Linked DNA regions of Homo sapiens: all the other regions are linked to region 2. Evidence: promoter capture Hi-C in 16 types of primary human blood cells and fetal thymus (Javierre and others, 2016). All regions are on one chromosome and are shown on one strand. The core of a region is centred on a gene start or on the middle of the fragment in contact, and the rest is flanking DNA. Distances in the headings are between cores, read along the strand shown.

Region 1 (3,299 bases), core at 368-2,867, 510 kb after region 2:
ACTTTTATTCCCCCTTTGCACATGGCACTCTTTGGACGGAAGTCACATGTGCAATCCATACTTAAGGAGTGGGGAGTTACGTTCTACTTTCTTCAGGACAGAGGATCTACATAAATTATTTGCAATACTTTTTTCTCTTCTCTTCCATTTATTTATTTATTCAATTATTTGTTTATGTTGGTATGGAGTCATGGATGTTTATTTTATGCTCTAGGTTATAATCCAATACTAATTCATTTATGTTCTTGTTCAAATTGTTTGATTTTAGCTGTTAAGAACTCTTTCAGTTGGCTCTCATATTTTTTTATTTACCCCACCATTTTACTATTACTATTTTTGAGTAGTGCCTTACTTACTGGTACTATAAGAGGTTCCAAGCTTATATTGTATATTTCTTCCCAATCCTAGAGTCAGCCATTTCTCCAAGAAGCTTTGGTTTATTTCTTAGAGAATGGTACTAGAAACCAAGATCTGGCTACTAGGTGTGCTCATTGCTATCTCTGCACTCTTTCTCCCAAAATCCCATAACCCCATTCTCATCATGAGAAAAATTAGACAAATCCCAATTGAGGGACATTTTACAAAATGCCTGACCAGTAATCCTCAACATTGTCAAAGTCATCAAAAACAAAGGATGTCCCAGAAGCTGTCACAGCCAGGAGGAGCCTAAGAAGACATGATGACAAAATACCTGGTGACATCACTCAGGGAAAGCAAATGGAGAGGATCCTCATGATGGGGGAGGGAAAGGAGCCCTTAAGGAAAACAATGAAAAGACAAGAAGAAAGAAATCTGGAGGGTGTATTGCCACCAGAGCCACAGGAAATGAAAGGTTTCAAAAATATGTAAGAAAATAATCAGGTGTGTCAGATACAGTTAAGACTGTAAGAAGAGGAGTGAGTGACAACTGCCCCCTTGGACTTGGCTTTACGACGTCCTTAGGAAACCAAGTAAGAGCAATTTCAGTGGAGCAGCGCCAAGTGGGGGTAAGGGCATAAGTGTAGTGCAGAGTAAATGAGACGTGAGAAAGAGAATAATCTTTCTAGAGATGTGAGTGAGAAGAATAAAGAAGAGATTAGAAAGTAACTAGAGAGAGCAGTGGAGTTAAAACAGATTTATTTTTGTTGTTGTTTTGTCCAAATTGTTTCAGGATGAAAGAATCTTGAGTATCTTTATAAACTGTGAGCATGAAGAGAGAGAGTATGTGAAGATGCATTCAATATATTCATTCTACAAATATTTTTTTGATTCTTACTATGTACAAGAACTAGAAAACAAAACAGCTGAAAATCCCTACCCTCCACAGAGCTGACATTCTAGTTGGGGGAGATAAACAAGATAAATGGGTAAATACATTGTATGAAAGAGGGTGCAATAAAGCAAAGAAAGGAGACAGTGCTGGCAGGAAGGGGTGTTGCAGTTGTGGGTGGGGTGACCAGGAAAAGCCTCATTGAGAAAGTGGCACTTGAGTAAAAGCCTGAAGGATATGAGAGAGAGGGCTATGTGAGTATCTGAGGGAAAAGCACTGCAGGCAGAGGGAACAGCAAAGCTAAGACCCTGAGGCAGAAGCCTGCCTGGGATGGTCAAGGAACACCAAAGAGGCCAGTGAGGCTAGAGCAGTGAGAGAAAGAAGAGTAGAATGTGTGGTCAGAGACAAAATGAGAAGCTGGATCATGTAGGACCTTTTAGGTCTTGGTAACAACCTTGGCTCTTACTGCGAGTGACATGGGGAGCCATCAGAGGGTCTTGAGCTGAGGAAAGACAGGATCTGACATGGATTTTAACCAGATCTCTCTGTCTTCTGTGTTGAGAATAGACTTAAGGGCTGAAGGACGTCAGAATCAGAGGGACCGATTAAGAGGCTATTGCAGCACTTCAGGTAAAGGTGACTTGAACCAGAGTGGTAGCAAGAGAGGGGCTGAGAAGTGGCTGAAATAATATATTTTTAAGGCAGAGCCAGCCAGATGAGGAGAATGGGAGGAAAGAAGAAGTCAGTGGTGACCCAAGGTTTTTGTCATTTGGCTACAGATCATGAAGCTCCATGCAGGCTCCATAGCATGAATCAAGCATAAGAGTCCTTCCACATCTCACCCTTGGCTTACTATATGAACACCACACTGTTACCAACATGCCTGGTTCAGTATTAGGGTGGTGTGCCCAAAGTTCACTTGGAGAGCTAAGGGCAGGCTCAGGGTCAGTTGGCCACAATACCAGGCCTGAGAGTGGAAGTGCCATTTACTGAGGTGAGGAAGACTGTGGTAGGAGAGCTTTTGAGGCAAGATCAAGAGTTTGGCTTTGGGCATGAATTAGATGTTCTATGACACACACACATTGAGAGATAAATACATGGCAGAATTTGAACCTGTATTAAAGAAAAATGTGGTCGGGTGCAGTGGCTCACGCCTATAATTGCAGCACTTTGGGAGGCCGAGGTGGGCAGATCACCTGAGGTCAGGAGATAAGAGACCAGCCTGATCAACAATGTGAAACCCCATCTGTACTAAAAATACAAAAATTAGCCAGGCGTGGTGGTGGGCACCTGTAATCCCAGCTATTCAGGAGGCTGAGGCAGGAGAATCGCTTGAACCCGGGAGACGGAGGTTGCAGTGAGCTAAGATCGCACCACTGCACTCCAGCCTGGGAGACAGAGAGAGACTCTGTCTCAAAAAAAAAAAAAAAGTTTCCACTGTAAATATAAATTTAGGAGGTAAAAGTGATGAGTTTAAAAAGAGAGCTCAAGGAATGTGAACAGGATGGGATGGAAGGAAGGAGTGAAAAGTTGACCCTCTGAAGCTGATGTCAAGGAAGCTTTGGGAATGTGGTTGCAAGAACATTTGCAAGGTTGCAAGAAGTGGACAGAGATCCTGCCAGATGGCCTCAATTTTCTCTGCTGAGTGGTAGGGGGTTGGGAAGGAAGCTTGGGGAAAGAGGTAAAACGTGGGCATGAATATACATGAGGACAGTGCTAGCAGGAGACTAGACAGGTAGGAGACTAGTCCCAAGGCAGTGCTGGGGCCCCAGCCTGGAGGCAGGGGAGGCTTAGTTCCTCTGACCTCCAACTCTTGGGACAGACAGCCTCACCACTCTGGCCCCTGATGTGCCAAGAGCAGTTTTGTGGCCAGACGTACCAGGATGCCAACCACCCCCACCCCCCACCCGTGTAGCAAGCAACTGTCCCAGCAGGTTTGTATCTCCAGCCATTCTCCCTCCCTTTCTGTGCCTGTACCTGCTGGGTGCCCTGCCTCCTCATTAGGCAGGTCTGGGCAATGGCTCAGCTAAGGGCGCTCCCACTCCACACC
Region 2 (3,611 bases), core at 116-2,615:
TCTAAATACATGGGTGCTAGAATGTTTGATATTATTCCACTGGTCACTGATCATCTGTTCATTTTTTTAATATTTTTCCCTTTCTTCAGTTCAGTTTGAACAATTTCTTCAAGTTCACCGATCTGTTCTTCTGCAACTTATAATCTGCTAAAACCATCCAATAATTCTTTGATGTTATATGTAATTTTGACCATATTTATTTTTCAAATATTGGTTTTTTATTGTTAGATTTTGCATTTGGTTAGTTTTGAGCATGGGAAACTGGGAAATTAAACCCAGGAAATGTGTATTGCAACAAAGCCAATAATTTCAAATTAAATATTGACTATGTCTATTCTTGTCTATACCAACTACACCACTCCAAGTCACAGTTCAAAGCCACCTCATTGGCTGTTCTCTTCTCTTCACCCTTCTCATCTTTATTTTACCTCATCCCTTCAGCTTTTCCTCAGGAAACTGCAAATTCTTTTATGCTATAATTTGGGGCAATATACATCCTTTAGTCCTCTTTTCTTATACCCACTCTGGATCTACCTTCAGAAAGCCCTATTCACTGAGGTACGTAGGAGGAAAAAAAAATGGCCTTTAGTTTTAATAAGAGCCACCTAACTTAAAAGGCACCTGTGACTTTAAAAATTCCCAATGTCCATTAAAATCTCAGGTTTGCCTCTATTTTTCTTTCTATCTATCTATCTATCTATCTATCTATCTATCTATCTACCTATTCATCCATTTCCTAATTATAACCACATGCCACATACTATCTCAGCTACTTCCCCTTTGTTATCTTAATTAATTTGTAAATCCTGCAGAAAAGATATTTCTCTTATTATCTTCATTTAAAACATCAGAAAGCCAATGGCCAAAAATATTGAATACTTTGCCAGGGTCTCCAAGGCCTCTTTTCTCGACTTCTATGATGCACACACATGCCCATGTGCACATGGACAAACCCCATAATGCAGGCATGTGGATTTTTAACCAAGCTATATGGACCCAAAGGTCTAGATGGAAAATTAGTATCTAGAATAGAAGGAAAAATGAGTTGTTTGTGCAGAATTCATAAGTGTGACTACAAGACTGTGAAGAGAGCCATCTTCATAGGAAATAGGCCACGGAGGACTCCAGGAACCATGATGTCCATTTTCACCCACCACAAGCCCCCATTTCCACCAAGCTCTTTCCTAGCTGACAGCAGCTCCCCTGAACACCAATGAAGGACGGTATATGCAGAACTGCCAGTCACCACTCGTCACAAGACCTATGTGGGTGTCGGGAGGCAGGTCCTCTCATGCCCAGGCTCTGTCTCACCGCTGGAGGCAGCACCCAAGGACAGAATAAAAGGGCTCAGGGCCAGAGCATCCCATCCACTCACCTCCTGCGGTGCTGAAGAACCCTGTGCTGCCTGTGATCCTGGTAAGTGTGCCCTGGAAAAAGGAGCAGGGGCTTCCACAGAGGGATGCCCAGGCCAGGGAAGGAGGGGATGGATACTCAGACCAGGGCAGGAGTAGAGTCTAGGCAGGGCCTCAGGGGCCTGGAATTGTGATTGGCAAGGAATGGGGTGGGGGCAGAAAATTGGAAAGAGGAGGTAGAGGGGTGGGGTGGAGTGAGAGAGATTAAGAAGAACTGGTAAGATCTGAAGGGCTGTATGACACAGATTTAGAGGAACCAAATTGTTTTCAGTTGCTCAGTGTGTTTCTCTGGTTTTAGAGAATAAACACATTGGCCACTGGATGTTGCTAGAGTGGGCTGCATAGTGGGAATATAATTTTGGAAATACAGACATACTCACTTTTAGAAAAGATATGCTGAGAACACTGCTACTTAGAGGAAGAAAGGATCAAAGACACCTGTGGATCTTGTTAGATGCCAACAAGAAGATCTGTAGTGGAAAACTGAGTGCACACTGGAGTTTAAAAGCCATGTGACAGTGCCTGGGGACAGGCCTGGGGAGGCAGGATGTGCTAAAGGGCAGAGCCCAGGATGGGAACCAGGGGACCCCGGAACAAATGTGACTGTTAATGAATAACTTTGGGCCAGTGAAGTTACCTCTTTTGGCTTCAGTTTCTTTATTTATATATTGAGTTGGTTGGAACAAATTGACTCCAACATCCTTTGCGGTTATAGTTTTCTCTATTTCTGCAAACTGAAATATATCAGTTCTTCCAATAGAAATTTATTTTGATTTTTCCTTAAAGAGATTTTCATCTCTAAACTGGTCTCAACATTGAACATTTTCAGAATTCTTGGTGATGTGATAGAATGAATGCTGGCCCGGAGCCAATTTATTTCCTGGACTTCTCTCCCACACTTAGGAGCTTTTAATGAGCAGAAACTTTATTTACATATTTGGAGATTATATATTGCATGACAACATCTCAAATAAGGTTTGAAATGAGAATCCATGAATGAAAGCACTTGGTAAACATTGAGAGTGATAAAAACATTAGAGGTGATTTTCCTATGTTTGATATAAGGCTTTCAAAATGAAGGATCTAGAAATAATGCAGAAAGGACAAGAATAGGCAGGGGTGTCCTCTGCCTCCATCTAACTTGCTGTCTGACCCTCCTTCAGCTCCTGAACACCCGCCACCGAGATGTCTTGCCAGCAGAGCCAGCAGCAGTGCCAGCCCCCTCCCAAGTGCACTCCCAAGTGCCCTCCCAAGTGCCCCACACCGAAGTGCCCCCCAAAGTGTCCCCCTAAGTGCCCTCCTGTCTCTTCCTGCTGCAGCGTCAGCTCCGGAGGCTGCTGTGGCTCCAGCTCTGGGGGCTGCTGCAGCTCTGGGGGTGGTGGCTGCTGCAGCTCTGGGGGAGGCGGCTGTTGCCTGAGCCACCACAGACGGCGTAGGTCCCACCGCCACAGACCCCAGAGCTCTGACTGCTGCAGCCAGCCCTCAGCGGGCTCCAGCTGCTGCGGAGGGGGCAGTGGCCAGCACTCTGGAGGCTGCTGCTGAAGTGGACCCTGTGCCTAAAAGAGCAGATTTAGAGGCATGAAAGGGGCAACTTCATCTTCCTTGGGACTGACTGTGTTGCTGGGACATTTTAGTAAAGATTTCAAACTCTGTCCTGGAAGATTCCTCCGACCTAGAATCCAGAAATCTGCCCTCTCACAAGAATTCCTCTTCTGACCTCTGATTCCATCTGTGCGCCTGGCCTGGGAATACCAAATAGAAGTCCTTGCCTCATTCCCCTGATTTCCTTGGCAATCTCCATTGTGCATGAAACAATAAAACAAATAATCTGCTCATCACCTTTTTCTAGACTGCATTACTCTTGCTTGTAAATGTGAACAGAGGGATAAGCATGTCTTATCTCAGCTCCATCACCCGGTTATCTGGGCCTTGAAGCAGCATGGCTTGCTTAACTCCTTCAACTCCTGGTCCTCACCAGAGCTGACCCTCGCCCCTCAGTGCCTCAGCCAGGGTCAAGTCAGGAAAGAGAATTATGAGATGTACTTTAATAGACAGAAGTTTACATAAAAATTTGCTTACTTGGCATCAGAGAACTGACAAGACCAATAGAGGACAAAAAGAGTTCATGGAGGCGGTAACTGTCATTGCCACCATGCTACCAATGGCAGGTAAAGGGAGTGTCTTGAAACTATCAAAACT
Region 3 (3,321 bases), core at 515-3,014, 400 kb after region 2:
TTTCTACCTTCATCCAGGTACCATCATCTCTCACTTGGACTAATCGTAAGAACCTCTTAACTGGTCTTCAACTCCCAATCCCCTATAAGCTAAACACCACTCTGCCAAAATGATCTTTCAAAAATACAAAGGCAGTTGTGTTATCCTGCCTGCTGTCCTTCCTTCAATGGCTTCCTGTTACACTTAGAAAAAATAGTTGAACGCCTTAACATTGACCCGTAAGGTTCTAATTGTTTGGCTGTTCCCGTAAGTCCAGTCCATGCAACGCTCCTCTCCCTGGGTTTGGCTTAACAGGCCCTGGTCTCTCTATTCCCGATATGTGCCAGGTTCGTTCTTCCCTCCCAGCCTTCACACATGCTGCTCTCTCAGCCAGGAACTCTCCCTGATGGACTTTCATGTTCCATACAAGGTTCAGGCAAACTCTCATGGATTCTTTCAGATGAGGTTAGTTCCCTGTTTTATGCTTTTATAAATCTGAACAACTCCTTCATGACACATGTAACCATTATACTTAAGTAATTATCAAGGTAACCATTTGTTTTGTTTAATGTCTGTTATCCTTGCTGAATTTAAATTCCATGTGTTATTCACCACTGCTATATGCCCAGCACCTCACAGTTCCTAAGACATATGAGGCCTCAATAAATATTTCTTGGCCAGATGTGGTGGCTCACGCCTGTAATCCCAACACTTTGGGAGGCCAAGGCAGGTGGATCACCTGAGGGCGGTGAAACTCCGTCTCTACTAAAAATACAAAAATTAGCCAGATGTGGTGGTGCATGCCTATAATCCCAGCTACCCAGGAGGCTGAGACTGGAGAATTGCTGGAACCCCGGAGACAGAGGCTGCAGTGAGCCGAGATCATGCCACTGCACTCCAGCCTGGGTGACAGATCAAAACTCCATCTCAAAAAAAAAAATGTTGAATGGTTTTTACAGTCCGGTTCATTTCTCTTTCCTCCTAGAAATGAAGACTTGGCCATGCAAGCAAGGGGAGGTGAGACCTGATACTGCCAGAGAAGGAATAGGGCACTGTCAACTCGCTAACTGGGTCCTAGTATTGGCTATGTAACCCTAGACAAGTTACTTTACATTTCTAGACCTCAGTTCAGCAGTTGGAACACGTGGACTTTGGATTTTCTTCTTCCTGGAACTTCCTTTATGCACTCATGTTTGTTACTCACCCATGTATTTATCCATTGTCCATGTCTGCTTGTCAGTTTTAGTTACCTCCTACCCCCACCTGTCCAAGGTGCTCTTGTCCTCAGAAGATCCCACTGGCATGAATAAGACAGACTTGGAAACTTTTATCCTAGATAAAACTGGTCTGGAACACATAAAAAGTATTTCCCCAACAATTTTGATTCACTTCAATTCCTGAAATCTAACTTCTGACTTTCAAAGAAAATTCCACTTTGGCAGCTGTACAGGTACCAACAACAGTTTACCCTTACCTGGAAGAAGAGCCTTGGAGGAGAAAACACACCATGTCGGTATGGGTGTGACAAAGTCTACTTTTTCTAGCACTCCTGGGGCTCACAGAGAAGGCATTTATCAAGGGGCGAGATGAAAGCAGACTCAGATTTCATATAGCCAGTTCTTGCAGTCCATGTCAGTAAAAGTGAAAAAGCCCAGCAATAATGCATTGTCTCATTAAGGCTAATGTGAGTAAGATAATTCAAGTATGTAGATTTCTGGTAGTGTAATTTTATCTCAACAAAGAACTTAGAACAATGAGAAAAGTAAATAGAAACCATAATCCTATCATAACAGCCCCTGAAACCTGTGAGCGCAAGGGGGATCTAGAATATTTCCAATGCCCCCTTGCAGTTAGTTAATCCCCTCCCAAAGGCACTGTTCAGATTCCTCACCATAGGTTAGTTTTCCTTATTCTGCATTTCCCTGACTAATAGTGTTGTTAAGCACGTTTTAATATGATTTATATACATAGAATCATACAGAACGTACTCTGCTGTGTTTGGCTTATTTGCTAAACATAGTGTCTTGATACACATCAAATTCCTGCTTTTTTAATACTTTCTTAAGTTTTCTTAATGCTAGGCAGTATTTCATTGTATGAATTTTCCATAATTTATTGATTTACCTGCAGATGGACATTTAGGTTATTACAATTTGGGGCTATATGAACAAAGTTGTTACGAATATTTATGTACAAGTCTTTCGTGGACATGTTATTTCTCTTAAATGAATATTTAGGGGCAGAGCTTCTTGGTCATAGCATGGTTGTATGTTTAACTTTATAAGAAACCGCCAAATTGTTTTCTGCATTGATTGTGCCACCTTACATTCATACTAGCACTGTATGAGAGTTCCAGGGGCTCCACCTCCTTGCCACACTTGCTTTGTCATTAATTTTAATATTAGCCATTTTTGTGGGTCTGAAATGATATCTTATGGGGCTTTTTAACTGCATTTCCCTGACTGATAATATGGTTAAGGATTTCACATGCTTTTTGGTCATTTATACATTTTCACTTGAACATAAATGTAGGTCTATTTCTGAGTTCTTTATGCTTTTCATTTATCTATATGTGTATTCATACACCAAAACCACACATTCTTGATTGATGAGCATTTATAGTAAGTATTGAAACCAGATAGTGTGAGACCTACAACTTTGTTATTTTCCAAGATTGTTTAAACTTTTCTAGATTCTTTGAATTTCCATGTAAATTTTAAATTTGGTCCATTAAGTCCTCCAAAAAAAAAAGCCAGCTGGGATTTTTATTAGGATTGCAAGGAATAAATAGATCAATTTAAGAGGACTGATACATTCAAAATAGTGTGTTATCCAATATGTGAACCTATATCTCTTCATTTATTTGGATCCTGTCTAGTTTTTCTCCAGATTGTTTTATTATTTTCAGTGTAGCAGACTTACAAATTTTTGTTAAATATATTACTAACATTTTATCTTTTATGCTGTCATAAAGTTATTTCTAAATTTTATTTCCAATTGTGTGGTGATGGTTTATAGAAATATAATTGATTTCTATATATTGACCTTGTATTCTGTGGCCTTGATAAAGTTCCATATTAGTTCCAATACATATTTCTATAAGTTTCTTAGGAATTTCTGCATGGGCAATTATGCCATTTGTGAGTAAAGACATTTGTGCTTCTTCTTTCCAATCCATGCTTGTACTTATTTTTCTTACCTTATTGCACTGGCTGGAACTTCCAGGAAATGTTAGAATAGAAGTAGTAAATTGGGATATACTTGCCTTGTTTCTGATATTAGGGGAAAAATATTTCACAATTAATATAATGTTAGCCAAGGCTTTTCATAGATGACCTTCAT
Region 4 (3,366 bases), core at 784-3,283, 270 kb after region 2:
CTATTGATGGGCTTTTGGGTTGATTCTATGCCTTTGCTATAGTGAACACGGCTGCGATAAATATACACATGCATGTGTCTTTATGGTAGAATGATTTATATTCCTTTGGGTATATACCCAATAGTGAGACTGCTGGGTCAAATAATAGTTCTGTTTTAATGATGATGTACTGCTGCTAATAGACTACTATCAAATGAGTAGTAATGATATGTCAGAAATTGTGTCAACTGAATTCCTGATATTAATTCCATTTTATGCCTAAGATAAGTTAGTGATATAAATATTATTTTCCACATTTTAAAATGAAGAGATTAAAATTCTGATTGATTTGTTCTTCAAATCAATCAAACACTAATTAAGGAAAATAAAAGGGGTTTAAAATGATATAAAAATAATCATTGTTATGGCCCAAAATTCAGATAACAATAATTGTGAAATCCTGGTCCTGGGGATCAGAGAAAGGTAGAACAAAATCCAAATAATCATATAATATTACTAATAAAGCAGATTCTAAAAGAAACAAAAGATCCATTCACAAATATATATGCATAGATACTTTATTCAGGGAGTGAAAGATAAATGACAATTGCAAAGGTGGTAGAAGCTCATGACCAGGTGACAGACAGACACAGAACACATCAACAGAATTGTCTGATGGTTCCCAGGGAGAGAGCTGCTGCTCTTTCTTCCGAAGCTCTGGGAGCTGGCACAGCTGAGGACTTCCTTTTCTTAGCTCCACCTGGACAGTGGCAGTATGGCAGCCTCAGAAAGGGAATCTTTTGCTGTCACAGATCATCACAGGCAGGCCACAGGTTAAGGAGAAAGAAGCTCCCTGTGCATCCATGGAAGGCTTTGGTGAGAAGATGCAAGTGGAGCTGTGGAACGAGGTGAGCCAATTATCCTTATCCTCTCATGCTCCTGATGAATCCTGAAGCTGTTACTTGCTCTTGGGTGGACACTTTGGCTGGCAGGGTGGGGAAGGTGTCACAGGAGGATATTTCTGCTGGCACTGCTGAGGTGGGCAGGGCTGTGGACACTTTGGTGATGGGCAGGGCTCAGGGCACTTCGGGGGTGGACATGGCTCTGGGCACTTTGGCGTGGGGCACACAGGAGGTGGCTGGCAGGGCTGCTTGCACTGCTGCTGTTGATAAGACATCCTGCTGGAGTCTCAGGATCTGAAAGAAATGATACAACAGTGTTTGTGGGAAGGGACTCCTCCAGAGAGAGAAGCTAATGCTTATGTAATACCATGAAATATTATTTCCCCATCTCCAAGAAATTATTTAAACTCTTAACTGCCTTTTCAAGACTACTTCGTTTCTCCCTTCCACTTTAGCAAATTGCTTCATTGGCCCTGGGAAATCTTGTGTTTTCTCATACAATTTTTCCAAAGAAAATATCTCTGTAGTAATGAACCAAGCATGTTATTTCTGTGAAAATAACATCTTTAGGAAAGGCAGTGACAAGTTCAGATACCATGAGCAATCTCACAAGCCATTTCTCTTATCATTATCTGTAGTAAAGTCCCAGTGGGTTGACTTGAGCACAGAACAAAGGGCTGTTTGGGAAGGATTGCAGGCTCTTGGCACCTGTTAAGACACAAACCTTTGAAAAAGACACCAGGAAAACATGGGGAAAAAATACTTTGTTCTTTTTTCTTCTTCAATTCAAAGCTTTCCTATTAACTTCTCTGTCCGTATGGACACCTAACTGTATACAAGAAACAAGCTAAAATAGCATATCACTGTACTCTAAATCTAAATTTCCATCTACTAAGTAGAATCAAACCCATGGTTACAGAATTGTATCAACCAAACTTGCTGTTTTCAGATTAAATTCAATATTTCAGGTCACAAAGAACTGAGGAACTCAAGGACTCACACTCACCAGGTTCTCCAAAGCAGATCGGTGCTAGAGTACCAGGAGTTTAAGAGTTGTGCAGCAGGGAACCTCTTTATAGGACGTTCTGCCCCACCCAGTGGGAAGTGGAACTGCCTAAAACTGGGCTGGTCCAGCAATGTCCAAAGTAAAATGCAAATGTATCCATATCTGGCATGAGAGGCATTCTCAAACTAGGAAATATCCTGTTCTGGGATCTCCCCACTGGGTTAAGTGCTCATGAGTCACAGAGAACCTGCCTTAGATCTCAGTTTCAGTGACTTTCGTCAGAGAGATAATTGGAGGGATTCTCTAACCGGTTGTCAAGGGCTCTCTTTCTTGATTGGGAACAATGATCCCTTCCTATCTTACCTCCCCTGAGTCATAAAACTTCCTGTCCTGATCCACTCTAGCTGAATGCCATATTGTTGTACATGAACCCAACTCTACCTCTACTTTCCTCATACAGTTGGCCAATGTGCTAGAAGGAAGGAGAGACTTAACAAAGGCCTGAGCTAAGCTTTTTCTTTGCTAAGTTCCATGACAACAGGCATGTCACCTCTCCTCCCTGGGATTATAAACAGGGGACAATAATACTTACCTCTGGGTTTGCAGGCTGACCACATTGTGCTATCTGCTGACCCTGTTCAAGACTGAAATTTTCTTTGCCACCTTTTTCTCAGATAAAACCTCAGATTTTTACCTATATTCCTTTCCTCTTTGAAGCTGTCTTCTGCACCACATTTGTAGCTTCTGCACCACATTCGTAGAGGCACTTGCATCCCAGGACAGATTTGAGAGTGAGATCTAGTCTCCACAGCACGTTTGCTACTTGGTGCCATCAAGGATGTGTACTACAGCCTTTTTATTTATAAAAAGTAATGGAGAGAAGGAAACTAAAGTTACAAGTATTGACTCAAAATCTATGTATGGAACCATGCATATATGGTTCCCTGTGAACATCCTATAGAGAACAAGCTGCATAGACATTATCATATGTAAATAATTAGAAGTAGGTGTGCAGAGTGAGGAAGGTAAGAGCACTTAAAGTTTAACTCAAGGGGAAAATACAAACAAAGGGTAATCCAATATGTATTCTTCCTCTCTATTTCCAAACAGGTTTTAGATGTTTCTCAGTGTTTTTTAATTTGTTTGCATGTTCTTCCTTTGTCTTTTCCATAAACCTTCTAGTCCCACAAACTGCTAGATTATCAACTCATACCCAATGTATACCTGTCATCTGTCCATTTTGGTACATATTGTTCACTTAACACATATGTTGTCAATGCATTTAGTGATTGTCCTTTCACAACTTTTTTAAATGCTTCCTACAATCAGTGAGCCTTTCTAAGTACTGTATATTAAACATTTAAAGTGATGTTGCTACTGCTTCCTTATCTGGACCATTAATCGGGAAGCTTCCCAAGAACATGGTTTTATAAGTGAATAAGAAGAAAGGAGAATGAGGAAGAGGAAAGACTCAAAATC
Region 5 (3,399 bases), core at 573-3,072, 380 kb after region 2:
AAACTGACACACTTCAGGGATGCCAGAAGGAACAGGGATGCTCCTGGGATGGGTGAGGCACTTTCACAGCGTTCTTTCTCATGTTGAAATCCTAGGAACCATAGCTGATGCATGCTGAAGAATTAGCTAAGGATTACGTGACTTAAAACAGTTCTATCAACACAATTTTAGACCTACTTTTCTTTGCCTCATGAATTACTAATAGATTCCAAAGTTATTTTTACCAATAAATTATTTGGTTTATCATTTATGCTTGATAAACTGAAGGAGGATTGGGCTTTTCAGAAAAGAATGCTTAATGAGGTTTGCCAGCTTCACAAAGGACAGTTTTTTTATAGAGAGAGAAAATAGCTAAAGGACAGATGATCCTCATTTTTCACAAATAATGGGCACTTGAAGCACTCTGTGCAAATTAAACCTCTGAAACTCACATAGTATCTACATGAGGGTTTGCTGGAGTTTACTTATAAACTAGTAACCGTGGTTATCTCAGGAGAATAGTTAAGTATCTAGGGAATAGGAGTGGGGGAGAGACTAACTTTTCACTGCATGACCATTTTCTTCTCTTTTGAATTTTGGTATCATGTATATTTTTTGCTTATTCAAAGTGTTTAAATATTTAAATGTTCAAAGATATTTTAAAATTGAAATAAATAAATCTGTGAGTAAATACTATGTTAGCAAACTGGCACTGTATAAACACAATGATTGAGTTAAGTCCTAATTAGGTGTGTAAATTTGAGCAATTTTCTTAACATTTCTGCAATTTTCAGTTTCTTCATTGAGAAATGGTAATAATAATACTTCTCTGACGGACATTTTTGTAAGGTGCAAATAAAATAAATAGTAAGCCTAGTAAAACAACCGTGTAAAGCTGGGAATTATGAGGCTGAATTACCTGGTCCCAAAGTTCCTGATTTGCCTAAAGATTTTGAAAAGAAGGACAAAGCTATTTTATGGGAGTCCCAGAAATGAAGAAACGAAGGAAGGTAGAGAGGGTAGAAGACAGGCGAGTGGAAAGAAGAGGAAAGGGGAAAGAGAGAGAGGATGACATTTCCCAAGGGCCATTTGATTTTACTTGATTTAACATTTATAGCCTAGTTCTTTAAGCTCCCAATAAAATTATTTCTATTTTAATAAATAAAGATATGCTGCTACTACATAATATGCCTTTAAGTTTTTGAGAATATAGAATTTAAAAATAATAGAATTAGAAATGAACAGAGATGGCAAGAGTGAGTGTCCTTGCTTTGCTCCTGATCTTAGAGGAAAAGCTTTTAATTTTTCACCCTCGAATATATTAGCTGTGGGTTACTCACATATGGCCTTTATTATGTTGAGATACATTTCTTCTATACCTAATTCGTTGAGTGTTTTAATCATGAAAAGATGTTGTATTTTGTGGAAAGCTTTATCTGCCTCTATTTAGATTATCATACAATTTGTATCCTTTATTCTGTTTATGTAGTGTATCACATTTATTGATTTGCCTACACTGAACCATCTTTTTTTTTTTTTAGAAAAGAAAGAAATTTATTGAACCATCCATCCTTGCATCTCAGGGATAAATCCCACTTGATCATGTTGCATTATTCTTTTAATGGACTACTAGGTATGCTAGTATTTTGTTGAATCTTTTTGCTTCTATATTCATCAGGGATGTTGGCCTGTAATTTTTTTATAATGTTCTTATCTGGCTTTGGTATCAGGGTAATGCCATCCTCATACAATGAATTTGGAAGTGGTCTCTCCTCAATTTTTGGAAAAGTTTAATAATAATTTATTAATACATTAGTTATTTAAATGTTTGGTAGAGTTTACTACTGTAGCCATGTGGTCCTGGATTTTTCTTTGATCACAGTATTTATATTGCTGATTTAATCTCCTTACTCGTTATTGGTCTGTCCAGATTTTCTATTTCTTCATGATTCAGTCTCAGTAGGTTGCATGTTTCTAGTAATTTATCAATTTCTTCTAGGTTATCCAATTTATTGCTATATAGTTGTTCATAAGCAGTCTCTTAGGATCTTTTTTATATCCATGGCATCAGTTTTCATATCTCCTCTTTCATATTTGATTTTATTAATTTGAATCTTCTCTCCTTTTTTCTTTATTAGTCTAGCTAGAGGTTTGTCAAATGAGTCATCTACAACTGCTGTCTCTTCTGTCCCACATCTCACTAACCCCTCAACCCATGGCAGTCTGGATTTAGCCCACCATCTACTGAAATTATTCCAAGCTTTCTGTCAGATAAACTGAGTCATTCTCCGTTTTTATCTTCCTAGACTTCTCTGCTACATGTCACAGTGCCAATCATTCCATCTTTCTCTAGAGTCTCTACTTACTGGTTTTCATAATATCCACTTAATATTCTCCTACTCCTGTGCTTAATCTTTCTCCTCCTTGATCTGAACCTCTTCTTCTAAATGCCAAATGGAGTCCTCTGGTGCTCATTCCATGGATCTTACCATCCTATGCATTCTCTAGTTACAATATCAATGATTCCTATGGTTTCAGTCATCACAAATCTACTAACTCACTCATCTACATTTGCACTCCAGAACTCACTTCAAACTTAAATATCCCCTTGCCCTCTAGATATCTCTGTCCAAATATCCTCAAGTACCAACAAGCTGATCATCTTTCCCACAAACCACTTGAACCTCCAGTATTCTCTATCCTGTACACCAATAATCACCCAGCTACTTGAGTTACCTTGACATTTTCGCCTCTACTACATGCTACTTATCTAAACTCCTCATTCTGACAGTTCAACAGCATAAGTATCTCTGGAATCCATCTCTCTCCTTCTATGCTGACTGCCATGCCCTAGTTCAGAGCCTCCTCATCTCTTGCTCGATTATTACCATAGCTTCCTAATATAGCTGTCTTCCTCTATCTTGTTTGATTTAAATCCATCTTTCCATTGCCATAAGAGTGATACATTAAAAAGTAAAATCTGACTACATCACTTGCATGCTTAAAATACTTTAAGTTCTAGGTCCATTACATAGCCCTTCCTTCGCCTCTAGCCTCATTCCTTATTACTCCACTTTTTGAACTGTGTGCTGTCATGTATCAAACTCTGTAATTTTGCTGACATACCAGTTTTTTCTATCCTCAGTGAATTTATTTACTAACCTGTAATATGCCATATTATTATTGTTTTACCGGGTTAATGTCTACACAATTCTCTAAAAGCCATCACTTCAATGAAAAGCCTTCCTGGATCCCTCCTATTAGGGCAGGTGACCCTACCTAAGAGTCCCATAAAACACTCTGAGCTTTGCATTAAGTGTTAAGTGCAACCCATCTGCATTAAGTGGATTCCCCACCCATATCCTTTTCCCTTGAGCTTGCGAGCACTTTGAGTAGTCAGACTGCAACTTCACCTACACT

Evidence for each region. Contacts are between HindIII fragments. The CHiCAGO score rates a contact against its expected background, and 5 or more counts as called.
Region 1: a fragment that was not itself captured here is called in contact with the fragment with the promoter of LCE1F in region 2 in 3 of 17 cell types (endothelial precursors, M1 macrophages and M2 macrophages); the score reaches 6.8 in endothelial precursors.
Region 3: a fragment that was not itself captured here is called in contact with the fragment with the promoter of LCE1F in region 2 in 4 of 17 cell types (M1 macrophages, M0 macrophages, M2 macrophages and 1 more); the score reaches 9.2 in M1 macrophages.
Region 4: a contact is called between a fragment that was not itself captured here and the fragment with the promoter of LCE1F in region 2, in 2 of 17 cell types (M2 macrophages and M0 macrophages). The highest score is 6.5, in M2 macrophages.
Region 5: a contact is called between a fragment that was not itself captured here and the fragment with the promoter of LCE1F in region 2, in 4 of 17 cell types (M1 macrophages, M2 macrophages, erythroblasts and 1 more). The highest score is 6.9, in M1 macrophages.

Annotation. Positions count from the first base shown.
Region 1 is chr1:153,285,495-153,288,793 of GRCh38, forward strand. No RefSeq gene overlaps it. Among named protein-coding and RNA genes, the nearest start is that of PGLYRP3, 26 kb to the right of the region's middle. The HindIII fragment of the contact is 2,378 bases long and covers 429-2,806 here.
Region 2 is chr1:152,773,775-152,777,385 of GRCh38, forward strand. It overlaps LCE1F (late cornified envelope 1F), which reads left to right and starts at 1,366. Exons shown (of 2, transcript NM_178354.3): 1 at 1,366-1,416; 2 at 2,576-3,250. The coding sequence starts at 2,598. The coding sequence ends at 2,954. The HindIII fragment of the contact is 9,364 bases long and covers 1-3,611 here.
Region 3 is chr1:153,175,149-153,178,469 of GRCh38, forward strand. It overlaps LOC101928009 (a long non-coding RNA gene), which reads left to right. Exons shown (of 3, transcript NR_110685.1): 2 at 965-1,492. It also overlaps a transcript of SPRR2G not described here. Among named protein-coding and RNA genes, the nearest start is that of SPRR2G, 26 kb to the left of the region's middle. The HindIII fragment of the contact is 5,568 bases long and covers 1-3,321 here.
Region 4 is chr1:153,039,191-153,042,556 of GRCh38, forward strand. SPRR2D (small proline rich protein 2D) reads right to left here and starts at 1,930. Exons shown (of 2, transcript NM_006945.5): 1 at 1,888-1,930; 2 at 542-1,175. The coding sequence starts at 1,156. The coding sequence ends at 938. The HindIII fragment of the contact is 725 bases long and covers 1,672-2,396 here.
Region 5 is chr1:153,152,642-153,156,040 of GRCh38, forward strand. It overlaps a transcript of SPRR2G not described here. Among named protein-coding and RNA genes, the nearest start is that of SPRR2G, 3.5 kb to the left of the region's middle. The HindIII fragment of the contact is 830 bases long and covers 1,408-2,237 here.